Linked DNA regions of Homo sapiens: regions 1, 2 and 4 are each linked to region 3. Evidence: promoter capture Hi-C in 16 types of primary human blood cells and fetal thymus (Javierre and others, 2016). All regions are on one chromosome and are shown on one strand. The core of a region is centred on a gene start or on the middle of the fragment in contact, and the rest is flanking DNA. Distances in the headings are between cores, read along the strand shown. Region 1 holds the start of CACNA1C-AS1 (CACNA1C antisense RNA 1). Region 2 overlaps CACNA1C (calcium voltage-gated channel subunit alpha1 C). Region 3 holds the start of CACNA1C-AS4 (CACNA1C antisense RNA 4). Region 4 overlaps CACNA1C (calcium voltage-gated channel subunit alpha1 C).

Region 1 (5,658 bases), core at 922-3,421, 470 kb before region 3:
CAGCTACCTCTTCCATGGGGGATGCGGATGACGGCCCAGTGACTGAGGGCTCATCAGAACGCCTCCCTGCACCTCACAGTGAAGGGCTGTTCTTGGAGAAGTACCAAATCAGATGACCAGAGCAGAGTGGACAGAGTGAAGACTGGAATAAAATAGGTCCTGGTCTCTCACAGCAAGAGGCGGTACAAACATACCCAGCAAACGATTTTGGAAAAATTGAGGGAAATGTAAGCAAACACAAGATATGCAAAACAGTAATGTCCAAACCTGTTTGTGGAGAGCAGAATAATGACTACACTGGTGATACCTTTGCTCATTGTGCAAACTAAAGAAAACTTGTTCCCTTTCCCCCAACCACATATAGAAAAGCACTTGAGTTCAAAGGTAAAGCTTGTCACACTCCAAATACAAAATGATTTACTTTACATGCAGCAAAATATACAAGAAGTGAATCCGAAAACCAACTTAATTCAATTCATTATATTCGCTTGGCACAATTGCAATTCAGTTTTAAAAAAATATTTGAAAAATACTGAAACTGACCTGAATTCAAGTATAACGGTTTCTTCAACAGAAACATTATCAATGCAATAAAACATTACACGGAATATATTGAAGCAAAATGCCTTCTTGTGTTTTTCCCTTAAATTTCTGTCTTTTTTTAAAATACAGTTTTAATGCCAACACAACTCACAATTGTATTTTTAAATGAATATTATTGCATTGTTTTTGCATATCTTGTGGGACAGAAAATGCAAAGAGTTACTGATTCCCGTTTCAGAAGCAGAGACAGTGGTTTGTTTTTGCTTTCAAACGGCCCCAGATTCAGATCTTCCCACAGCTAAACCAGAAAGGGGGGACTGCGTAGTCACTGGTGTGCACGGGCACATGGTGTGGGTGCATATACACGGGCAGGACATATGCACACAGACAACCCACCACACACACACGCGTCGCACACACTCGGAGACTCTCTCGCGCATGCTCCTCTCTCCCAAACCCACCTGTACACCCAGCATAAAAAGGAACCCAACTCTATCACCCACATGTGCAAGACCACATCAAGTGCATTGCCAGTTACCTTTCCATTAGATAACCGAACCAAACCAGAACAAAAATAGGTTACTACCTAAGGAAATGATAACAAATTATTGGGCATACACAATGGTTGGTAAAACTCTCCTGCAGCGGCTTCTATTGAACCTCCGTGGAAAAAGGAAACCACAACCGTTTAAATAATACAAGAAAACCAAACCCGATGTACATTGGCAAAAGTGAAAACAGAAAGGTGAGGGGGCTACAGGACTTTGTAAACACTCTTCTTCCTCCCCTCCCGCTGGGAAAGCAAAATAAAACATTTAAAAAAAACCAAAACCGAAAAGAAACTGCAACATGCTGTCAAGAAAAGTGTCAAACCACAAAACAAAAGAGCGCTCAGCGGAAGCTCAGCACCACCTGGTTGGGCGGAGCCGGCGGCGCAGCTCCTCCCTCGCGCTGCCTGCGGGCCGGCGGCTGGCCGGGAGCTCGGCGTGGCCCGTGCCGGTCGGGGGATCCCGTCGCAGGTGGGCAGGGACGGAGTGAGCCGCACCACTGCCGGCCCGACGCCCATCCCCAGAGCTCCGCGCCCCTGGAGGCCTCCTCCTCCCTCTCCGGGCCGGGTTGGGGTCCTCCTGGAAGTCCTGCCCCGCTCCCTTCTCCAAATCCGCAGGGCCCTGGCTCTAGGGAGACAGCGAGGCTCGTACAGAATATGTGCAAATGGTTTCTACAAGCAGAGTCGAAAGACACCCGTTTGCTGTAGGGTCCTTTTGGTGAGGGCGCGCGGGAAGCCGGGGTGCTCTCCCCGCGGAGGCGCGGCCGGGCCCGGGGCCTGCGAGCTGGGAGAGGGCAGGCGCCTTCCTCGCGCCCCGGGACCCTCGCCGCCTCCTCTCCCCGCCTCTGCAGACGCAGCCGGGCGCCTTCCTCCCGGAGGGCGGCTCGCGCACCCAGGCTCCGCGTCTGGTCCCAACAGAAATGAATGAAGACGCTGTTCCGGTTAACTCCAGGTCACGAGAACAGTGAGGCACTTCTGAAACGAACCCATTAGGAACATTGAAACAAATAAAAAAAAGCCCGCATCTGGCAGCGCCCACTACAGGCTGCTGACGTAGACCCTGCTGTCCTGGAGCTCCTCCTCACTCGGTCGACCCCGCGCGCGCACACAGCCCGCGTCCTCTTCGCCCCCGGCTCGGTCCTGCCCCGCGTCCCTGCAGTTCACAAAGGGTAAGAGGGCGCCATTGGGGCTCTGTGGGGCGCCCCCGCTGAGGATGTTGTCGGCCGCGCTCTCCATCTCCTCTATGGTCATGTCGCAGGCGTCGGCCAGCTCCTGGGTGGTGACCTCGATGAACTTGGGATCTTGAGCAAACTGCCCCAGTCCTTCTGAAATCAAGACCTGAAGGAGCGGGGTGGGAGCCATGAAGAACCAAAGGAACATTACTCCTGGAGCCCAGCTCTTCCCTTGAGGGCTAGAGCGAGGGGGTATCTGGTAGGTCACTTGGGGAAGTGTGCGTGTGTGCACGTGTACGTGTGTGTGTTGGGAGGGGCACCCATGGGGAACAAGTGGAGATGGAGCATCTGCCAGAATTAGGGATGTGCAGGCCAGAGAAGTTTTGGCTGGGGTGGTCAAACACTGTCATCAAATATATGAAGACTTGCTTATGGCCCAGCACGGTGGCTCACACCTGTCACCCAGCACTTTGGGAAGCCCAGGCAGAAGGACTGCTTGAGCCCAGGAGTTCGAGACCAGGCCCAGGCAACACAGGGAAACTTCGTCTCTACAAAAAATTTAAGAATAATTAGCTGGGTGTGGTGATGCACACCTGTGATCTTAGCAAGGCCAGAGACTGAGGTGGGAGGATCATTTGACCCCAGCAGCGCCAGGCTGCACTGAGCTGTGATTGTACCACTACACTCCAGCCTGGGTGACAGAGCGAGACCCTGTCTCAAAAAACAACCAAAACAAAAACCAGAGAAGGTTTGGCTCTCAGAGGGGCCGGGGGGTTGCCCTGATGCTGTATCAGCAGATCCCAGCCTGCCTCTCTCCTTTCTGACACCCACTGAACCTTTATACTATTCTTTCAGAGAAACCATTCTCCCTGGTGAAACTGCTGAGACAGGCCCACTGCCCATTGCCTGCTGCTGCCTTTCCAGGGGTGAGGTATCTGTGCAAACACGGCGCATGCCCCTGCCTTGCTTCTGCTGGGAAGGGCCAGCAGGTGACCCTTAAGCTTCTCTGTCCTCCCTACCGGCTGCTTAGTGCCTGGCTATGGGAAAATCGGCTCCTGAGCCAGCGGGTCGGGGGAAGCTGAGTGCAGCCTGGCACTCGCTCCTTTCAGGCATCTGTTTGTCTTGCTCCTTGCCCACGCCACTCATTCTCTCCTTGCCCTGCTTAGTTTTTCTTTGGCACTCCTGACCTTCCTGATGTGTTATATATGTATGTGTTTATTATCTGTCTCTCCTCACCATGATGTGAGCTCATGAGAGCAGAAGCTCTGTTTCTCAGCTGTGTCCCTGTACCTAGAACAGGGCCTGCACATGGTAGGCGCTCAGGGAAGGTCTGTGAAATGAATGCAGGATGATCGAGGCCACAGGAATACCAGACTTTGAGAGGTAAACCTTGGAAGCCACCTGGTTTAACGCCCCACCTCCTGCACCACAGCCTGACGCCCGGATGAGCACAGTCTCTGCTTGGCTATGTCTGATGATGGGGGGCTCACTACCTTTCAGGCAAGCCCCTCTCATCTTGGAAGAGCTCATTTGGGAAGGTCTTCCCCATGTGAGCTGAAATCTGTCCGCTGGTGGGCTGAGCCTGCCACCCTTTCCCCATCCCACCCGTTGCAGGTGTGAGAGGTGTATCGCACCCTCCAAAGTCACCTCCTCTCCAGGTTTTCTTCCCGAATTCCCTGAAACGGTTCTCCTAGGAAATGGTTTCTAGGAACCTTGCCATCCTGGTCATCCTCTGTTGGGTTTGTTCCAGTGTGTCAAAGGTCCCTAATAATGTGGTGCCGGGATTGCACTAGATGCTCTGACCAGGCAGAGCACAGTGGGACTGAAAGCTCGCTTGTTCTAGGCTAGTGGCTCTCAACCTTGCTACACGTTAAAATCATCGAAGAGCTTTAACAATCATCAGTTAATCTGTCCCGGGTTTCCAAAGCTCCCCAGGTGATGCTCACGGGCAGTCAGGCCTGAGCACCTTGGATCTTGCCTGTCTGTGTATAAAGGCAGCCAGGCTCACATTTGCATGTCGAGCAGCTGCAGTATAAGGGATAAGTTGCTCAGTGGTTTCTGCCGCCCTCTGCAGTGGGCCCAGCCTCAAGAGAGCCCATAGCATCTTGTGCAGTCATGGCTTTCCGCACACGAGCCCTCCTGCAGCCCTGAGAGGGAGGGTCTTTCGGGCTCAGATATTGACTGCAATGAATTTGGCAAGAGCCAGGTGCTCCCTTCTCAGCCCCGCATGCCAAGTCCCCTTGTTGCCCGTGGCCTCTCCCCCCTGCCCATCTGCGAGTCACCTACCGCTTCCACCAGGCTGCTGGCACTGCCGTGGAACTGCCTCCCTGGGGCCCCAGCCTGGCTGGGCACCATGAGGGAGACGGGCCGGACTCTCCGGGCGGCGCTGCTGCCCCCGCCACCGGGGGTGGTCTCAGCCCAGGAGCCGCAGTGGATGGATGGGAAGCTGCTGTTGAGTTTCTCACTGGACTCGACCCCCTCAAGCCGCAGGGTGGGGACGGGCTGTGGGGGCCAGCCTCGGCTGCCAGGTGTGGCTGGTGGGGTGGCAAAAGGCCTAGGGAATGAGGCAGGGGAATGGCTTCTCTGGAGGAGGGGGCTCAGGCCTGCCACTGCCAATGCCTGCGGACACACAAGGAGTGTGAGTTAATAGGAGTGGCCGACCCCAAACAAGGCAGGCCCCTGCTTCTGAGCAAGCACTGCTTTGCAGCTGCTGTGTCCAGCTAGCTCCACCTGCCTGGTATTCCCATGCCATTATTTTCCCCTGTCGGTCCTATCTCAACCTGGCATGACTTTCAACTATCTCAAAATACATCTTAGGATCATCTGGGTCTGAAGTGATCTCTTTCTCCTGTAACTTCTGAAAGCTGGGATTGGGTGAAGTCGTGGTAACCTGCTTTTAGCCCTGGCCTGGTCACCTGTCAGCTGTGCATTCTCTCGCTCTTGGTTTTGTCCTCAATAGAATGGAGAGCAGGGTGAGGCCTGCATGTCTGTAAAGCCAGAAAACGAATGCTGTCTATCCATCTGCCCTGTGGGGCTGGTGTGAGGCTCAAGCGCAATGAGGTCTGTGAAGAAGCGCTGTGCACCTCACAAAGAGTTGGGAAAACCAGTATTTGTGGTTTTAGTTCTCACAGTTAATGGGGCCATTCATAATGCCCTGCCAGTCTCTAGCTCAGGTTGTCTTTGAGCCATTGTTAAATCCGGTGCTGTATTGTGATTAAAAGATTCAGGGCTGGGAGCAGTGGCTCATGCCTGTAATCCCAGGACTTTGGGAGGCCAAGGCGGGCAGATCACCTGAGGTCGGGAGTTCAAGACCAGCCTGACCAACACGGAGTAACCCAGTCTCTACTACAAATGCAAAATTAGCCAGGCATGGTGGTGCATGCCTGTAATCCCAGC
Region 2 (5,647 bases), core at 396-2,895, 380 kb before region 3:
TCCCTTTGGCACATTCTGCTTAGGGCAGACACTTGGGATGGCTGCCTCTGTTACTATTCTGTTCATTACGGAACCGGGACATGCAGTGGGACCAGTGTCCGGGACCCCACATGGCAGCCACTTGGTCTGACCATCATCTCCTTCCAACCCACCCCTCACCTCTGTGGAGCTCCCACTCCCCAATGGGCTGGCTGGAGACTCCCTACCCAAGCCCTCAACTCACCTTTAGCCCCTTGGCCCTGTTGATGGCCCTCAGGGGCCTGAGTACTCGCAGGACTCGCAAGATCTTCACGACATTGATTGCACTGGACCTGGGAGAGGGAAACAGGCAGGGTAGTAAGCTCCTCCTGTTTCTGGGGGGAGCAAAAATAATGTGGTAAGGGAATGTCCTGACAGGTGAATCCGAGGCAAACCTGAGAAAACATAAAGCCCATCTTGGGGATGTTCGCATTCTGGGACCACTCTCTACTCCTGTCTCCCATCCCGTGAGAGCCTGGAGCTTGCCTGTAACCCTGGGGCTTTCCTGTGGGTGACTAAATAATATGCAAGGTGGCTCATGGCAGGTCATTAGCAATGTACTGTGCTACTCACAGGGGCATTCACAGTGTCACAGAAAGAAATTCAGAGCAAGGCCATGGGAATTCAGACCCCAGTGCAGGCACTTGCTAGCCAAGGCACTGAGGACAAATTTCCTAAATTTTCTGAGCTCTAGTTTCTTTATCTGTAAAATGGGTCTGTAATCAGCTCAGAAGGTCTTTGCAAGGGTTAAATAAGAATTCTATGTAAATCACCCAGCCATGTGCTTGAGAAACTGCCTGAATGGTACCTGCTCATGAGGCCTGCTGAAGACGTTACTACACTTAAAGGAATGCCGTACTAACGGTGGGATCTCGGGCCTTGTGGCTGGAGGTGATGTCATGGGGAGGAGATTTCTTAGTGTTTATCTCCAAACACATATTGCCCCTGACACCTAAACATAAAACCCACCCAGAGCACACTCAGGACTCCAAGGAAGGATGGGCTTCGCTGTTGGGGCTCAGGAAACAACACCCCGAAACGACGGCCTTAGAAGCAGTCTCAGAAGCAAAAGTTTTTCTCTGACCTTCTCTTGCCCTCCTGTCTCAGTCCCCTTCTCCTCTCAGGCTAGCCATAGACACTAGAATCCCTCTTCCCCAAGATGGGTCACAGAAACCAGAACCCAGAACCCCGTTTCCTCAAAGCCAGCCACACAACCTAAAATATTATTCAAAATTTCCCTCTCCTTTTCTGTATAAAAACTGGCCATAAAAAATGACCAGATCCACCATGTGGGAGTGTAGATCCTCAGACTCCTGTTGCAGACGGGATCCTGCCCCGACCCAGAAGGAGGGAAAGCTTCACAGAGAGCACAAGAAGAACCTAGAGACAGGCCTTGCTGGGTTCCCCACTCGGTCCATTCACGTTAGATCCTACGCTTCTTGTCCAATCACATTTCTACATGGCTGTCCATACTTTTTTGAACCTAAGCAGAAAAATGGTCAGTTTCCCCTGTATCTTTGGGTCTGCATTCTATAGGCTCTGTGTATACACGTTAAATAAATGTGAATGCTTTGTCTCCAATTAACCTTTCTTTTGTCAGTTGATTTTTCAGTGACCCTTCAGAAGGCCAGTCCCTTTGGCTCCTACGTGGCACTACAGGTTCCATACACCTGGGATGCTGAGGCCAAGCCAGAGCTTCTCGGAGTCTCGGGCTACGGCTTTTCCCTAGTGCAATGGAGACAGCAGGAGACAGGTCCCTAAGCAAGATGCCTGGATGGTTTTTGGAGCTGTCCATCCTACCCAGGTGGGGCTCATTAACCATACCACCTTGGTGAGCAGCTATGGAGCACATCCTAACCCTCACGGGCTAACTACCTGAGATAGCCTCTCAAGCTTTTGGAGAGCCTCATACTTGTCTTGGGACCTAAACAATGAATGACAGGCCAGCAAGCGCTGATTTCATGCTTTGTGTGGTCAGGATGATGTGCTCAAGGGGCTGGTGGAAAGATCCGATTTCTCTGGTGCATGACTCTTTTATTCCAAGAGATGCAAAGGCCATTCCTATCTATCACTGTGTCTCTCCTACAGTCTCTCTGGGAGGGAGTCAGTTTGCACCGAATCACAATGGAAGGGATTTAAAGGTCAGATGGGAAAAACACAGGCTAAAGAGGAGGAATTCCTCATTCAAGGTTAAATAGTGACTGAGTGGCCATGCTGGGATTCAAATCTGGACTTGTAGGCTCCCAGGCAGAAAATATGGGGTAATATAACTGATGATCACAGAAAAGGGTCTCTCCCAAGGTCCTGGTCCCTGCATGATCTCAGCCAACCATGAAAACACTCTTGGGAGGAGAGACCCAGGAACGCTGGGACTTAGGCCTTTCTCTACCACAGGTGTGACCTTGAGCAAGTGTCATGATGTCCTGAACTCCAAATTTCCCATCTATACAATCATGATAACACTTGCCCCGTCTCCCCCATCGTTTTGTGTGTGTGAGGACCACAGAAGAATGTGTATGTGGAAGTGCTTTGAAAGTTAAAGTGTAGGATTCACACTATCAGCTGTTAGAACTTGGTAGAAACTGGTAATCAGATCCTCCACACCTGAACGAGGACTGCAAGCTTGGCTGTACAGGGGAGTCACCTGGAAAGCTCTTAGAACTCACACCCAGACTGTACCCCAGACCAGTGAAATGAAAAACTCACACACACACACACACACACACACACACACACACACACAAGACACAAATATACACAGTCACACACATACATGCACTCACACATACATATGCACATACATACACATATACATTCACGTCCATAGACACATATGCAGACACAAACACAAACACATACATACACACACATACACACAGCCACAAACACACATCCACATATACACACACCCCACACATCCACACACGTGCACACATACACCCCACACTTACACAGACATATATATACACACATTCACACATACACTCATACATGAGGTGCTTTGGCTGGAGAGAGAGGGGAGAGAAAGGGAGAAGGAGGGTCCAGGTCAGGGGAGGTCACGGCAGTGGCAGACTGTGGGTTGCTGAAGGTCAGCCTAGGGCACTGGGGCCGTGGTGGAGGAGGCAGGAAGGTCCTGGAGACAACCGTTTCTTAATAGCTGAGCCTGGCCCTGCCTGTCATGGCAAAACCCAGATAATTAAACATATTCTCACCTGATCAACGTGCCCCAAGTATCAGACCACTGAGGACACAGAACCAAGAACCCAAAGCCACCATGCACAGCTTTGGAGGCCCCACCCCACTCTCATCACACTGCGGTGGCCCTGCAGGCAGGCCCTCCAGGGTCTGGTTGTCCTCTCTGGCACCCCTTGCTAGCTGCATGGCCCATCGTGGGCTGAGGGGCTCCCACTCACTGGATGCCAAAGGAGATGAGGGACACGCTGACCACCAGCAGGTCCAGGATGTTGAAGTAGTTCCGGCAGAAAGAACCCTTGTGCAAGAAAGCCCCATAAGCAGTCATCTGCAGGGAGGGACAAAGGAACACCAGTGTGAGTGGCCCTAGCCCTAGCCCAGAGACCCCTCACACCACCCCTTCCTCCCACAGCATCCCTTGGGCAAGTCCCAAGCACCATCCATGGGGAACAGGAAGGACAAAGACGGCGCTATGGTGCCAAGAAAAGAGTTCTGCTACCATGCACACAACCACCCAAGACTCTCGCAGCCCAGGACTGCTGGGTGGCTCCTTGCACCTGCCAGGCCAAGCCAGGCTCTTTAGTCCTCCATTCAAAGCCCTTTCAAGTGGGCCCCACCATCCCACTCTAATTTCGCACTGTTCCACATCCCAAGTCCATGGCTTTGGGCCTGCAGGGTCCTTTCCTGATGCTGTCGGGTTGGGAGCACACATCCCGACTGCCTCTCCAAATGCTTGAGTCCTTAGGCCAGCTGAGAGCACCAGACATCTGCCGTGAGTGGGTGGGTTGGGGGGCGGGGCATGCCCAGCAGGGTGACCAGCCATCCTGGTTTGCCCAGATTTGCTTTATCATCAGAAATCCTGCATCCCAGAAAACTCCTCAGTCTTAGGCAAACTAGGCCAGCTGGTCACCCTGGTGCCTGGTGAGAAGTTCCAGTGGTGACCCTGGCAATTAGCATACCTCCCCTTCCTGGCCTCAAAGGGTGCTTATTATTGATGCCAAATATTCTAAACTCAATTCTACTGTCCTGCTTCTAGACTACATCTGGAGTTCTTTAAGGGCAAAAGTTGTGTGATCAGAGGGGCTATGAGGCTCAGTGGCTAAGAGCACAGGCTCTGAGGCCAGACGGCCTGGGCTGGAATCCCAGACCTGTGGTATTTTATTTTTGTGGCCTGGAGCAAGAAACTCAAATTCTCTTAGTGCCTCTGTTTCCTCATTGGAAAAATGAGGATAAGGTCTACCCTACAGGGTTGTAAGCATCAAGTGGGTACCTCTATGTAAAATACTTAGGATGCCACCCTGCACACGGTGAGCCCCATAAAAGGGTGAGCTGTCACTACAGCCTGGATTTGAATTCTGGATGCTTCCTGGATGAGAAAAGTTCTGTTTTCTCATCAAAAGGTGAGGAAACTATCCCCTGGCTTTGTGAAAGCCCTTTGGAAACTTTTAAAAAGAGAACACACAAGATGACGATGACTGCTACAGGACTTGGCCATTATTACCACCCTCTGAGCCTGGTGTAAAGCTGCGCACTGCAGGTGCTCAACAAATCACCTTTACAGCCTTTCTCATTTTGCCGACTTGCGTAAGGGCCAGTGGTTATCCAGGATAAGGGCTGTGACAGGCAGCGGACAGGAAGCATCGGCCAAAGGGAAAATGTGGAGCCGACAGTGGAGAGGTGGAGCAAGGCTCCCCGGTCATCTGGGGTCCAGTTCATCTCTTTGGAATCAGAGCATGCCCAGGGCAGAGTGTCCGCAGAGCCATTCAAAAGCAAACACAGAGGGAAATGGGCAAAAATAGCTCTTGCAACCTAATTCTTTCCATTTATCTCTTGCAGCAGGGGGTCCCAAAGGACTCAGGCACCTGTGTTGGGCAATGGTTTTTAGAAGTGGGTAGATTACATAAAAGATGCAAGGGAGTATAGTTCTAGAAGGCCCACCATCTGGAAGCCTTGCCTCCCTGCCTCTTGGTGAAGAGCTGGGACCCCCACAGACTGGACTCAGGAGGCTCCCATAATTCATATTAATTGTGCCTGCAGAAAGCCCAGTACTTCCCCAGCCACCTTGCTTTTAGTGTTAGGAAGGCACTGGGTCTGATCCCTTCTTGCTCCTGGCTTGGATCTTCTGAGGCTACTACTGAGCTCTAACAGAACACTCTGCATTCCTCAGATGGGTGGACTAATAAGGCTCAGAGTGCCAACTCTGTCCTCTGGTTTTGGGCTCCTGTTTTGTTTAGGGACCCTCAAATGAGACCAACACTTGAGCAAGTGCATGTGTGTGCATGTGGGGGCGGTGGGAACATGCATCCAGGCAGGGCCAGAGGAAGAGTGGCTGTACAAGAAAGGGCAAATGGACATGGGGAAAACGTAGCATTTACTTGAAAGTCATCTGTGGTGTTCAGGGCATCAGGAAAAGCCAGACTCAGGTACCCAGTGCTAA
Region 3 (5,529 bases), core at 370-2,869:
AGTGACTTGCATGAGATCAGAAAGCAAACCAGAAATGGAGCCTTGACAAGCCTTCACACTCTTAAGTTTAGAGTGCGAACGTTTATTCATCCATTCTGAAAAGCCACAACCTTAAATGTCTGAGTTCTGCGGTCCTGCAAAAATTTGGGTGTGACAAAAATCACTTTATAAATTGTGCTAGAAGAAAAACAGCCCTAACAGTTGGCTAAGGTACATAACCGTCTCTTTCAACCCAACATCAGAAAACCATTTTGCAAGCAAATACGACATTATCATCCCCTCCAGACAATGATGGCAATAGCACAGTAGTACTTACATGAGGCCTCCCACCTCTGGGACCCACGGTGCTTCATGATGTAATTATCTCCAACACTGACCTGTTTACTTATACGAAGAATGCTAAGTTGCCTTTTCTTCATCAGGAAATTGATGGCAAAGTAAGCTACTCCCCAAAATCCCAAAGTGAGCCAAAACAACAGCCTGACCTCCAAAGTCATCTTATAACACACAACTCTGGACCCACCACCCCATTCTTCCCTTACTACTAACATGCAATGCAGCTGACCACCCTGGCTATCACCACAAGGGGTGGAGCAGAACAGGGGCTGGGAATGTGGGAGCTCATGTACAAGGGAGTCTGGGAAGGTCATGCATTCATGACCTTAAATCATGTTTCAACCTTAAATCTAGAAGAATGCTGGATAACCAGGATCAGAGGCTCCGCCAGGGGGATTAGCAGTTCAAAAGAGAGCTCTAGAATGAAGATACAGATGTGTGACTCGTTTGCATATCGGAGACGGTGGAGAGGAGACCAGAAATCATACTTTCTCTTGTAGGCCTCTTGTGGCAAGTCAGGTTTATCAGAATAAAAACTTCATTTCCCAGCTCCCAGTTGTTGATATCATTAAGAAGTGGAATTACAAAGCAGAAACAAACCAGGGCACCTAGGGTCTACTGCAGGAACCAATCAGCAGGCAGGAGGTTCAGGGTGGGAACCAAGCCTCACCATCTCTACCTGTCAGAGTGTTTACAGGTCTTTAAGACCCATCTCAAATGATACATCCAACTTTTATTTTCCTGATTTCTCCAGAGGTATTCTCTCCCGTCTTTAAACTCCGATGGGATTTTGTGTGTGCACCTTTTATGAGATGCATCATAATCTGATTGGGGTTATGGATATCTATAAATAAACTAGAATATATTTGTGTATTATCATTTACTCAATAATTATTTATTGAGCTCTTGCTATGCACTTCAAACTCTTAAATAATAATACATATAAGTTTCTTGAGGGATGGAACCATGATTTATTCATTTTCTACGATGTATAACATTTTCATTCTAATGTACGTAGGGTACAATTGAATTCAAATCCAATAGCACTGGCAAAACAACTCTATAAGAGGAAGGATAATGGAGGACTTCAGAGCAGGAGTCTTAGAGTCAGAGAGATCCGATTCAAACTCTAGATTAATACCTCTGTAGCTTTATGGCCTTAAGCAAGCAGCTTAGCTTATCAGCAGGTGGGTCTGTAGGGTCATCCACCACAGGAAGGACGATGAATGTTACATCACAAGGAACCCACTATTGACACACTTAATCAGCAGCTATGGGGCCCTTATTCAAAATGGCCAGGTTAGGGTCCTCTTCTTAGGATCAGAAGGCACTACTGACCACCAGCATTCTTTCCAACCAGGCAGTTCCATCCAGGAACAGGTATCCTTGTTGGTAACTGGTATGTGCTATATTTTCTACACCTCAATGGAGCTGGGAGTCCCCAAGAAATAAACCTCTGCAGTTGGTTAGACCTGGCTGCTTCATCTCCCTTTACCCAAAAATCCCAGCTGAAAACAGGGGCTCAAACCCTTATGTTTGGACCCATTCACCACACAGCTTCTTTTTGGAGGTGTGACTCCCCAGTAAGACATTCCGATGCAGACAACATTGTCCAGTATGCTATGAGTCTTGCAGAGCCAAGTAGGATATCCCTGTCCTTGAACAATCAAGGATTTAAAAATTAAGTGCCTGCTGAGCTGTTCATCAGCATTTATGTGCGTGTCCATTCCAGTATGTAAAGATTGTGACATTTCAGATCCCAGTGTTTAGGGTCCATTAAAAAGCAAATGTCTCCTTTAAATGGAGAGGTAGTGCATTTCTCCTTTGTCCTTATTCCAATGGGCACCTCCCTCTGCTCAACTCCTTTGCAGGTTCATTTCCAATAGGTTTATGTAACAGAACAGCTGAACCATGTATCAAAGGGGCTCTGGGTGTGGCTGCTGAAGCAGCATTTCACTTACAGTTTTCCAGTGAATGAGAAAGCACTCCTCACTTGAGAGCCGCCTGCCACTCAGGACAACTCATTGTCCCTCATGTTCAGATTGCTCACTTAATTCAGGGCTTGGGATCAGACGTGAGCTGGCCATTTGGTTGCATGAGATGTACACCAGGCAAAGGTGTACTAAAGGGCACGACAGGGTACCATAAATGATCCATCCAAAAATCTATTGGTGCCCATAGTCACGTCCATGTCAAAGACTTGGGCCCTGAAATATTAATATTTACATTGTGGTTTTCCTCTTACAAAATATTTTCTAATTCCCTATCACTGAATCCTCACAACTCCGTGAAAGCATTATTCTTGTTCTTGTTATCACCATTCATTCCCACTGCAAATTGAAGCAGCCAAGAGTCTGTGCATTAGAGGTTAAGCGTCGTGTTCAAGATCACAAAGCCAGTGAATGGCTGAGCTGGGACTCCAACTCCAAGTCTTCTGACTCAAATCCAGTGACTTACTCAACACAAACTTTCTGAATACAAATGGTTGTCCTATGTATGGCAGTGTATTAAGAAGGGCCACCAGCCCACTGATTTATTCACTTTTCAGTTTATACTTGGACATGGTAAGACATCACAAGTTTTTTCAAATAACAGGGCTTTTTTTAAGTTTTTATTTCAAATGTTTATGTTAGAAAATTTAGAAGAATCATAAATAGAGAATGAAATAAAATAATTTGTAATTTTGTTCCCTGAATTGGCTTATCATTAACACTCTAATGTATACCTATTATACCTTCCAGGGTATAGTATATCCTGTCTACACTCATATGAGATGTAAATAGAGGTTATATATCTTATAAAATTTGGGATCATATTGTAGATAACTTTCTATGTTTGTTCATTTAGCAGTGCAGTTGAACATCTTTATGTGCCATTAACTGTCCTTCTAGGTTATCATTTGAATGGCTACATGGTGTTCCATCATATGGACGCATCCTAACTTAGTTACCCAGCCCTCTGGTGATTAATAGAGGAGAGAAATTATCCCAGGTTTAGCTCCATTACAAATAAGACTACAATGAACACACTTGTAAGTAATCCTTGTGTATTTCTGACTGTTTCTGTAGGATAAAATCCTATGGACTTGCTGAACCAAAAGAAATGAGCATTTTGAAGCCTTTGAACATTTTGTCAAATGACCCTCCAAGGTGAGTGGAACTTCTGCACTGCCATCAGCTGTATCTAAAAATGTCCAACTTCCCAACACTCTTGACAAGACTTTCACTGTTGATGTTTATTCTGAACAAACTGCCTGGCATCCTTTGAGGCCTCCTTGCCCAACTGCCCAGCAGGCCCTGGCAACTCTGCCTCCCAGGCACTTGCATTCATCCCACTGGCCAAATTCTGTCCATTCATCTCACCTCCACTGCTGGCACCTGGTCCCAGCCTCTATTCTCCTACCCAACTGGCCTCCCAACCAGTTTCTCATTCCCTCCCAACTCCCTTTTCTAATCCACAGGCAGAATGATGGTATTCTAAAAATAAAAAAGACACGTCACCCTCCCTACCAGTCATGATCTAGCACTCCCTCTCCCCACACCGCCAACCCTTTGACCAGTTCACCTGCACCCGCCTGGTCATTCACTGTGTGCCAGCCTTGCTCTTCTGTTTCTGACACATGCCAAGGTTGTCCTGCCTCTGGGCCTTTGTACTTGCTATGCCATCCCCCGGAAGGCTCTTCCTCTCTTTCTTTGCAAGCCTAGCTCCTTCTTGTCTTCCAGGTCCCAGAGGGGACCTCCCTGACCAACAGCTTAAAGTAACCCCCACCCACAGTCATGTTACCACAAAACTCTGCTTGTTTCTCTTTGATTTCTTTTTCATAGCACCTACCATAATATGAAGCTCTCTCATTTATTTGCTTACATCTTAAATTTTCTCTCTCTTCTCTTCTTGCCCTCATATGCACAGAGAATGTAAACTCTCGCTCAGCGCCAAGCACAGCATCATCAGTGCCTGTCAAAGTGCCTCGCATATAGTTCATCCTCGATAAATACATGTTGAATAGATGAATGCACAGGAAAAAGGAAATAATTTTAGTATTGCGCTAACCAAGCATAATACTCAAGCTAAAACTAATGTAAAACTTACCACCAGCTGCCTTCCGGAAACAAGTGAAAAAAGACAAGAGACACCACAAACAATGGTGAGTCAAGACTGGTCAGTAACTACAGATCCCAAAGCTCCAGCTGAAGATGGCTCTCCTACATCAGACTGATCTAGGAGAACCCAACCTAGTATCAGCACCCCTTCACACCTAGTATCAGCACCCCTTCACACCTAGTATCAGCACCCCTTCACATCTAGTGTCAGCACCTCTTCACACCAAATATCAGCACCCCCTGTCTCATGGGAGGGCAGAGGTAATGCTTGTACCAGTTCCCCATGCCTGAGCCTTACCAGGGAGCCAGCACTGTAGCTGGTGTATCACATGCGTTAGCATGCACAGGCCTCACAACTCTGCAGTATCATCATTCCCACTCTTACAGATAATGAAACTGAGGTTCAGAGAGCTATGGATTAAGCTCAGCTCAAAGGAGTTGAGCAGAGGGAGCTTTGAATTGTGTCAGTATTCCAGCACATATCTATCTGACTCTATATACATGCTTTCTGTACAATTGCCCAGGGACCCCACAGCACTGCCAGTTGGAGAACAGGGGAGCCCAGATGCTGGTCCCTGACCACTTCCACCGTCTTGTGCTGATTCTGGATGCAGGATGCAAAGAACCATTTCCCTCAGCATCTGAGGAGGAGGAAATCCTTTCTATCATGGAAAGCAGCTTGGGTTCTCATGACAAATTCAATGTCAGAGAGCTGAACCAACATCATAGAGTGCTCTTCAAGGAAAGCCTCCCTCCTGGGCCCTCCACTGCCTAGGTCACCAGGCCTCCAGACTCCAGGCCTCCAGATCCCAGGCCAAAAGGCTGCTTGTATTTCCTTACTCTCCCAGGGCCTCTCCTGATACCTGGCCTCTGAAATTCTTTCCACATATAAGGGTGCACTCAGTGTTCGTGAAAGCAAGTGTTTCCAGGGTTTCAGATGCTCCACAGAGAAACTTTCATAGTCATTCAAAAAGATTAGCTTTTCTCTCTAATTCACATCATCACCAAGGAATAAAGCCTCACAGGTTACGGGCTGGAGCTTCTTCCTCTGAGGGTCTAACAGGAAAAGCTGGACAAGGATATATTTGTTCTT
Region 4 (5,137 bases), core at 1,711-4,210, 360 kb before region 3:
GGGTAATTGAAGCTGCAGCCAGCAGAGTGCACTCTGGAGTCCAGCTCCCACTTGGCCACTCTGATACATCACTTTGGGTGCAATCTGGACAGCCCAGGAGAGAGGGAGAGGGCAGGGGGCAAGCCTAGGAGACAGGGCAAGAGAGAGACAGGGAGGGAGCAGGAGAGCATGGCAGTGTGCTCCCTGACACCGGCCCTTTCTCCCTAGTGGTCTGGCTGAAGGCAGAGCAGGAGGGACACTCACCAGTGCTGCCTGCTAAGGGGTACCTGCATGAACCAGGCATGGCAGGGGCCAGCGGCCTGGAAGGGGCAGCGGTTGGGAGCACAATGGTAGATCAGGATCTTTGCCATTCGTGGTTCGGGAGAACAAGAAGCAGGAAGGAACCAGAGATTGACCAGAACAGAGACAACAGGCCACGTGATCTTCGGAGGAGTCTCTGGGAACTTCTGCTGCACCTGGCACTAAAGGATCCAGGAGCTGACTGTGGAGGCAGGGAAGGGAGGAAATGGGAAGGCAGGAAGAGCTGGGAAGCACAAGCTAACTTAGCCTTTGGGGGCAGAGTGATGTGTGGGGCCACCAGCTTTAAGAGCATGCTGCCCTTTGGACCTCCTGGATGAGGACCTGGAAACCAGGGATAGTGCACAAATGGGCATGCTTGGGGCTGGCTTCAGAGGCCGGAGTGGTGGCTGGTGTACGTGGTGGGGCAGTCAGGGCAGCCTCAGGGTATGGACCAGAGGTCTCAACACGAAAGTAAAGAGACACATGTAACCAACAGAAATGACGGGGAGCGGGCCGTACACTCAAAAATCTCAAGAATCCTGAGGCCTCAGCAGAGGGTGGGAAGAGCTTTTCAGCTGGAAAGCGTAAGCATCCCCCAGTCCTCAGAGCCACTGGGTAGCTACGTGAGAGGCATTTCTAGGATGGCCGACCTGGTGACAAAATCCTCATTAGCCCTTTTTTTTTAAAATTAACATTCTTCTCTTTGATTTCATTAGAGCAACAAAGAAAAGAAAAGCCAAGAGTATAGATTAATAGAATTTGAGATTTTTGTTGAAGATGCAAGAGGTGTATCTGCCGTACAGGCCTGGCTGCAGCTGGGTGCCTGTGTGAAAAGACCCTCATGCTAGATCTGCCCTGTTGTGTGTGCAGGGAGGCCCATCCTGGAGGCTGGCCCCATGGGAGGGCTCTTCTCAGGGCTCTAAGGAATTTGTTTTATTACTGTCTTTCATTTTAAACCTTAAAGATTTACACAAGAGTACAGTCTCACATACTAAACCTCATATATATAACCAGCTTCAACAACTTTGGACATTTTGCTAATCTTGTTCCATTTATCTTCTCTGTCCCCATTTTTTTTTTGTTGGAATATTTTAAAAGCAAAGCAACTCGTAAACATTTAGACTCTGGCCATAAACACTGCAGCAGTTTAAAAACAGAACTACAAAATATTATACCAACAAGATTAACAAAACTACTTTCAATCATTTAGTTCCCAGTCCATATTCAATTTCCCCCATTTCCCTCTAAAACGTCATTTTAAAGTGTATTTGTTGCTTCAGGATCAAGGCAAGATCCTCCCATTGCATTTGTTCAATAATTCTAGTACGTCGTTGAAATTCCCTAACGGTTTCACCCTAGAAGGGGTTTTAAGAACTTCAAAGCCTTAATGCCGGGCATATGAAAACGCCCTTCCTGTTCTTTCTATCCAAGCTCCAGGAAACCACATCCTATTCCCTTGCAGGAGGAGGGGAGTGAGGATGGTGTGACCACAGGGAGTCTGGTTCCCAAGGATGCCTGTGAGTGTTCTAAGCAGAGAACCAGCGGAGGGAAAGCAAAAAGGGAAACCGAGCTTTGCTCATAAATGTAGGAGGTTCTCAGCCACCTAACTTGGTGAACAACCCAAATATAGCCTAACCTACAGGAACAAGGAAATGTCAGTAAAATCAACAGTCCCTTGATAGCATGTTATTGACTTCAAGCTTGAAACTGGCGATAATATCTGCAATCCTAGGTCAGAGGAAGGCAAGCCCAGGCCTTGCACAGGGTATGGGATTTCAGGGAGCAGGGAAGTGAAGCCTGGAGGGAGGACCTCTGATCTCTGACATTAAAGCTCTTGAGAAGCAGACTGCCTGCCAATTTAGGTATCAGATAGAAGCATAAAAAGATGGAGTCAGTAAGCGCGCCTTTTATAATGAGACCTGAAATCATTGCCTAAAGCAACAAGTGGGACATCTGTGGTGGCAGCTGTCCCTGCACTCGGCACTGCCTCCTGAGTAGGGGCAAGGCAGACTTGGGATTGACTATTAATATTAAGTGAGCATAATGTTGCAACATATGCCATACTAATACATTATATAAATTAATGATGATTTTACAACATGTAATGTAACAAAAATTTAAATGTACACTGAATCCAACTTGGAAAGGACACAAAAGCACTGCTCAAATGTGATCTCATTATGAGGAAACCAGAAACAAACCTGCCTCCCAGATGCTGACTGATGATGCTTAAATATAGAGATAGAAGACACTCAGCAGTGGAAGGTACTTACAGAGGGACACTGGAACCATGGTCCCTAATATATGGCCACTCCCACGTGGCTTTAGAATTTAGATCTCTGCCCCCAATCTCCCAATCCCAGGTTAGGCAGTGGGACTGGTACCTGTAGTTTCTGGGTTGGGGTAGGGGCTCTTATCCTCATTTTCATTGGGCTGGAGGTCATCCATGTTGATCTAGACAGTCACAGGGGAGAAGGGGGAAGAATAGTTAGATACGTCCCCAAGTTAAGAGGCTTGCAGTAGCCTTGAAGTTGCATTTTAGTCAGTGACTTAGCTCAAAAATAGGTACTTGTCACTTTGCATATCTCCTTCAAGACATCAGCAGATGGCTGGGATCCAGCCAATCTGCCTTATCTTCCCCCTCCCAGCTCTCCTGTTCATCCCCACTGGCTTTCTTTCCACTGGGTGTCTTTCTTTCTCTCCTCTTCTCCACAGGGTTCTGGCCTGGGAAGGCTGTGGCCCTCCCTCCCCAGCACCGGCCTCACAGCTCCAGGAAGGAGACAGCTCCTCACCTTGGTGGCGGGTGGAGACTCTCCGTCAGCCGTGATGGATTTCAGCTCAATCTTCTCCTCCTTGGATTCCCCCACTGCCGGCTTCTCCACCAACTCTTGTTTCTTCTCTGGGCTGGCAGTCCTGGCCAGTCAGCAGCAGAAAAAAATAAATGGCTGTTTACTGGAGTGATAGGGAACAGTGTAGGAGGGAACCGCCCTGTGGCCTGTTGGGGCCAGAGGGGACAGATCCCCTGGGTCTGAGTCCATCTTCCTTTCTCCAGGACGCTTCTCGTGTGCAGCTCAGTCACAAGTGCTATGGGGCTGAGCTACACCTGCTCTGCCTGACACGCAATTGGCCTCTTGCAGCTCCAGAGATGCCTGGGTCGCCAAAGCAGAAAAGGATGGTGGATCTCATCTAGGATTGGCTCCTGGAGGAGCTCTGCTCAGTGCCCGGCAGCTGTGTGGCCTGGAACTGTCCCGTCTAGATAATGATAGGATACAACATAGGGCCCCGTCTTGCCTTCCTAACACTGGAGATGAATTATAAAGTAGTGAGGAGGACTCCCTCTGTAAGCTGGAGCTGCGTTTCCCAACTGAGTGGTTACCTTTCTCTCTCCCCACCCTACACTCCTGCCACCTATCACAGCTTCTCAAAAGATAATCCCAGCAGGTGGAGAATATGACACCATTGCAGAGATTATTATAATTCATGATGGTCCCTACCAGAGTGATGCTTAGGAATTAGGAGAGAGGCCCAACTTAGGAAGCCCCAAACCCAGAGTCCTCCTAGGAGGGAGAGCCAACAGAGGCTAGCAGTCAAGCCTCTCTCTGCCACCAGTGGGAAGACATTCCACAATGGGAGCCCTGGAGCCCCAGGCCTGGGCAAGCTTAGAGGGTTACCTGGCCAGCTTCTTTCTCTCCTTCTCCTCTTCCTCCTCCTTTTGGGCAGATGTGAGGCTCTCAGCATCAGCCAGGTTGTCCACAGCAATGGCCAAGAACACATTCAGTAGGATATCTGTTTGTGTCCATTCTTAAAGAAAATGACCCTTGGTTTGGGGTTTTGGTGGGCACAGGGGCACGGGGGATGTGGGGCGTGCAGGGTAGAGCTCCTCAGCAGAGAGAGCTTGAGGGGGAAGCAATTTGAGGGAGTCAGACCCCAACAGTGTTCCTCCCCTCCCCTTCCTCCCCATCACCCTCCTAGCTACCTGGAGCTATCAAGAGGGATGAGAACAGGCTAGCCTGCACACTGGAGCAGGCGGGAGGGAGGCAGCAAGCCCTGCCTTGCACTTTAATTGCTGGGTTTCATGATTGCTTTCCCTGCTGAGATGACTGGCTGTAATTGACATTATAAACAGCATTGTCTCTAGCAGGATGCAGAACGCTCTTAAGAGCGGTTTATTATAACTGGGCGCTGAGGGGGTGGCTTGGTATCTCTGCCAACTCTTAATGTGAGCCTGCACCCACGAAGACCCTTGGAGGGTCCATCTGGAGCCAGCCAAGGCTTGGGAGTTCCCAGTGGAGACAGTTCTTTGCCCTTTCTCCTCCCCACTCCACCAACAGAAACACTGTGGGTCAGAGAACTGCAGAATCAACGAAAGCATAGCTGGAAGGGGGCTTTAAGTCTGTGAAGTCTGACCCCCGGCCCCAGGCACCCAGACATTCATATCATTTCACACACAGGGAAGCCGCAGCAACCCAGGCTGGGGAAGAGGGGCTTTGTCCAGGGTGGCTTCTGAATGTGGCAGAGGCCTTGCATGCATGATCCCATGAAAACTCCCAACGACCCTTTATGTAGTAGGTTCTATGATTCCATTGCCACATTTTACAGACACTGAGGTAGAGGACCTTCAATCTGCAAGAGGTCATCCAGCTGGGAAAAGAGGAAACCTTGTCTGCAGGCTTCCATGACTGTGTTTTCTGCACTGCCTTAGCTGGGACTTGGCCCAGAGCTGTTCCTATGTTACCCCTGGCTCTGGACGTGACTCTCTCGGGGTTATGAGCTGGGGAAGAGAAGCAGCACCCGTGGCTTGTGCCCTGGAAACCTGCCCCAGCCGGGATCAGGAAGGAGCTTTTGGGGCTGTTTGAAG

Evidence for each region. Contacts are between HindIII fragments. The CHiCAGO score rates a contact against its expected background, and 5 or more counts as called.
Region 1: a contact is called between the fragment with the promoter of CACNA1C-AS1 here and the fragment with the promoter of CACNA1C-AS4 in region 3, in 2 of 17 cell types (M0 macrophages and M2 macrophages). The highest score is 6.2, in M0 macrophages.
Region 2: a fragment that was not itself captured here is called in contact with the fragment with the promoter of CACNA1C-AS4 in region 3 in 1 of 17 cell types (monocytes); the score reaches 6.5 in monocytes.
Region 4: a fragment that was not itself captured here is called in contact with the fragment with the promoter of CACNA1C-AS4 in region 3 in 3 of 17 cell types (megakaryocytes, monocytes and M2 macrophages); the score reaches 6.2 in megakaryocytes.

Annotation. Positions count from the first base shown.
Region 1 is chr12:2,687,670-2,693,327 of GRCh38, reverse strand. CACNA1C-AS1 (CACNA1C antisense RNA 1) reads left to right here and starts at 2,171. Exons shown (of 4, transcript NR_045725.1): 1 at 2,171-2,259; 2 at 2,349-2,521; 3 at 3,118-3,188. It overlaps CACNA1C (calcium voltage-gated channel subunit alpha1 C), which reads right to left. Exons shown (of 47, transcript NM_000719.7): 46 at 4,549-4,881; 47 at 1-2,428. The coding sequence ends at 2,129. RefSeq lists a silencer at 1,442-1,711. The HindIII fragment of the contact is 2,873 bases long and covers 393-3,265 here.
Region 2 is chr12:2,599,745-2,605,391 of GRCh38, reverse strand. CACNA1C (calcium voltage-gated channel subunit alpha1 C) reads right to left here. Exons shown (of 47, transcript NM_000719.7): 22 at 3,432-3,538; 23 at 224-311. Among named protein-coding and RNA genes, the nearest start is that of CACNA1C-AS2, 70 kb to the left of the region's middle. The HindIII fragment of the contact is 537 bases long and covers 1,377-1,913 here.
Region 3 is chr12:2,219,571-2,225,099 of GRCh38, reverse strand. It overlaps CACNA1C-AS4 (CACNA1C antisense RNA 4), which reads left to right and starts at 1,619. Exons shown (of 4, transcript NR_046578.1): 1 at 1,619-1,735; 2 at 2,680-2,900; 3 at 3,405-3,485; 4 at 4,246-4,563. The region is part of intron 3 of CACNA1C (calcium voltage-gated channel subunit alpha1 C); the gene reads right to left. The HindIII fragment of the contact is 15,222 bases long and covers 1-5,529 here.
Region 4 is chr12:2,583,431-2,588,567 of GRCh38, reverse strand. CACNA1C (calcium voltage-gated channel subunit alpha1 C) reads right to left here. Exons shown (of 47, transcript NM_000719.7): 16 at 3,951-4,065; 17 at 3,072-3,192; 18 at 2,664-2,733. Among named protein-coding and RNA genes, the nearest start is that of CACNA1C-AS2, 86 kb to the left of the region's middle. The HindIII fragment of the contact is 1,958 bases long and covers 1,982-3,939 here.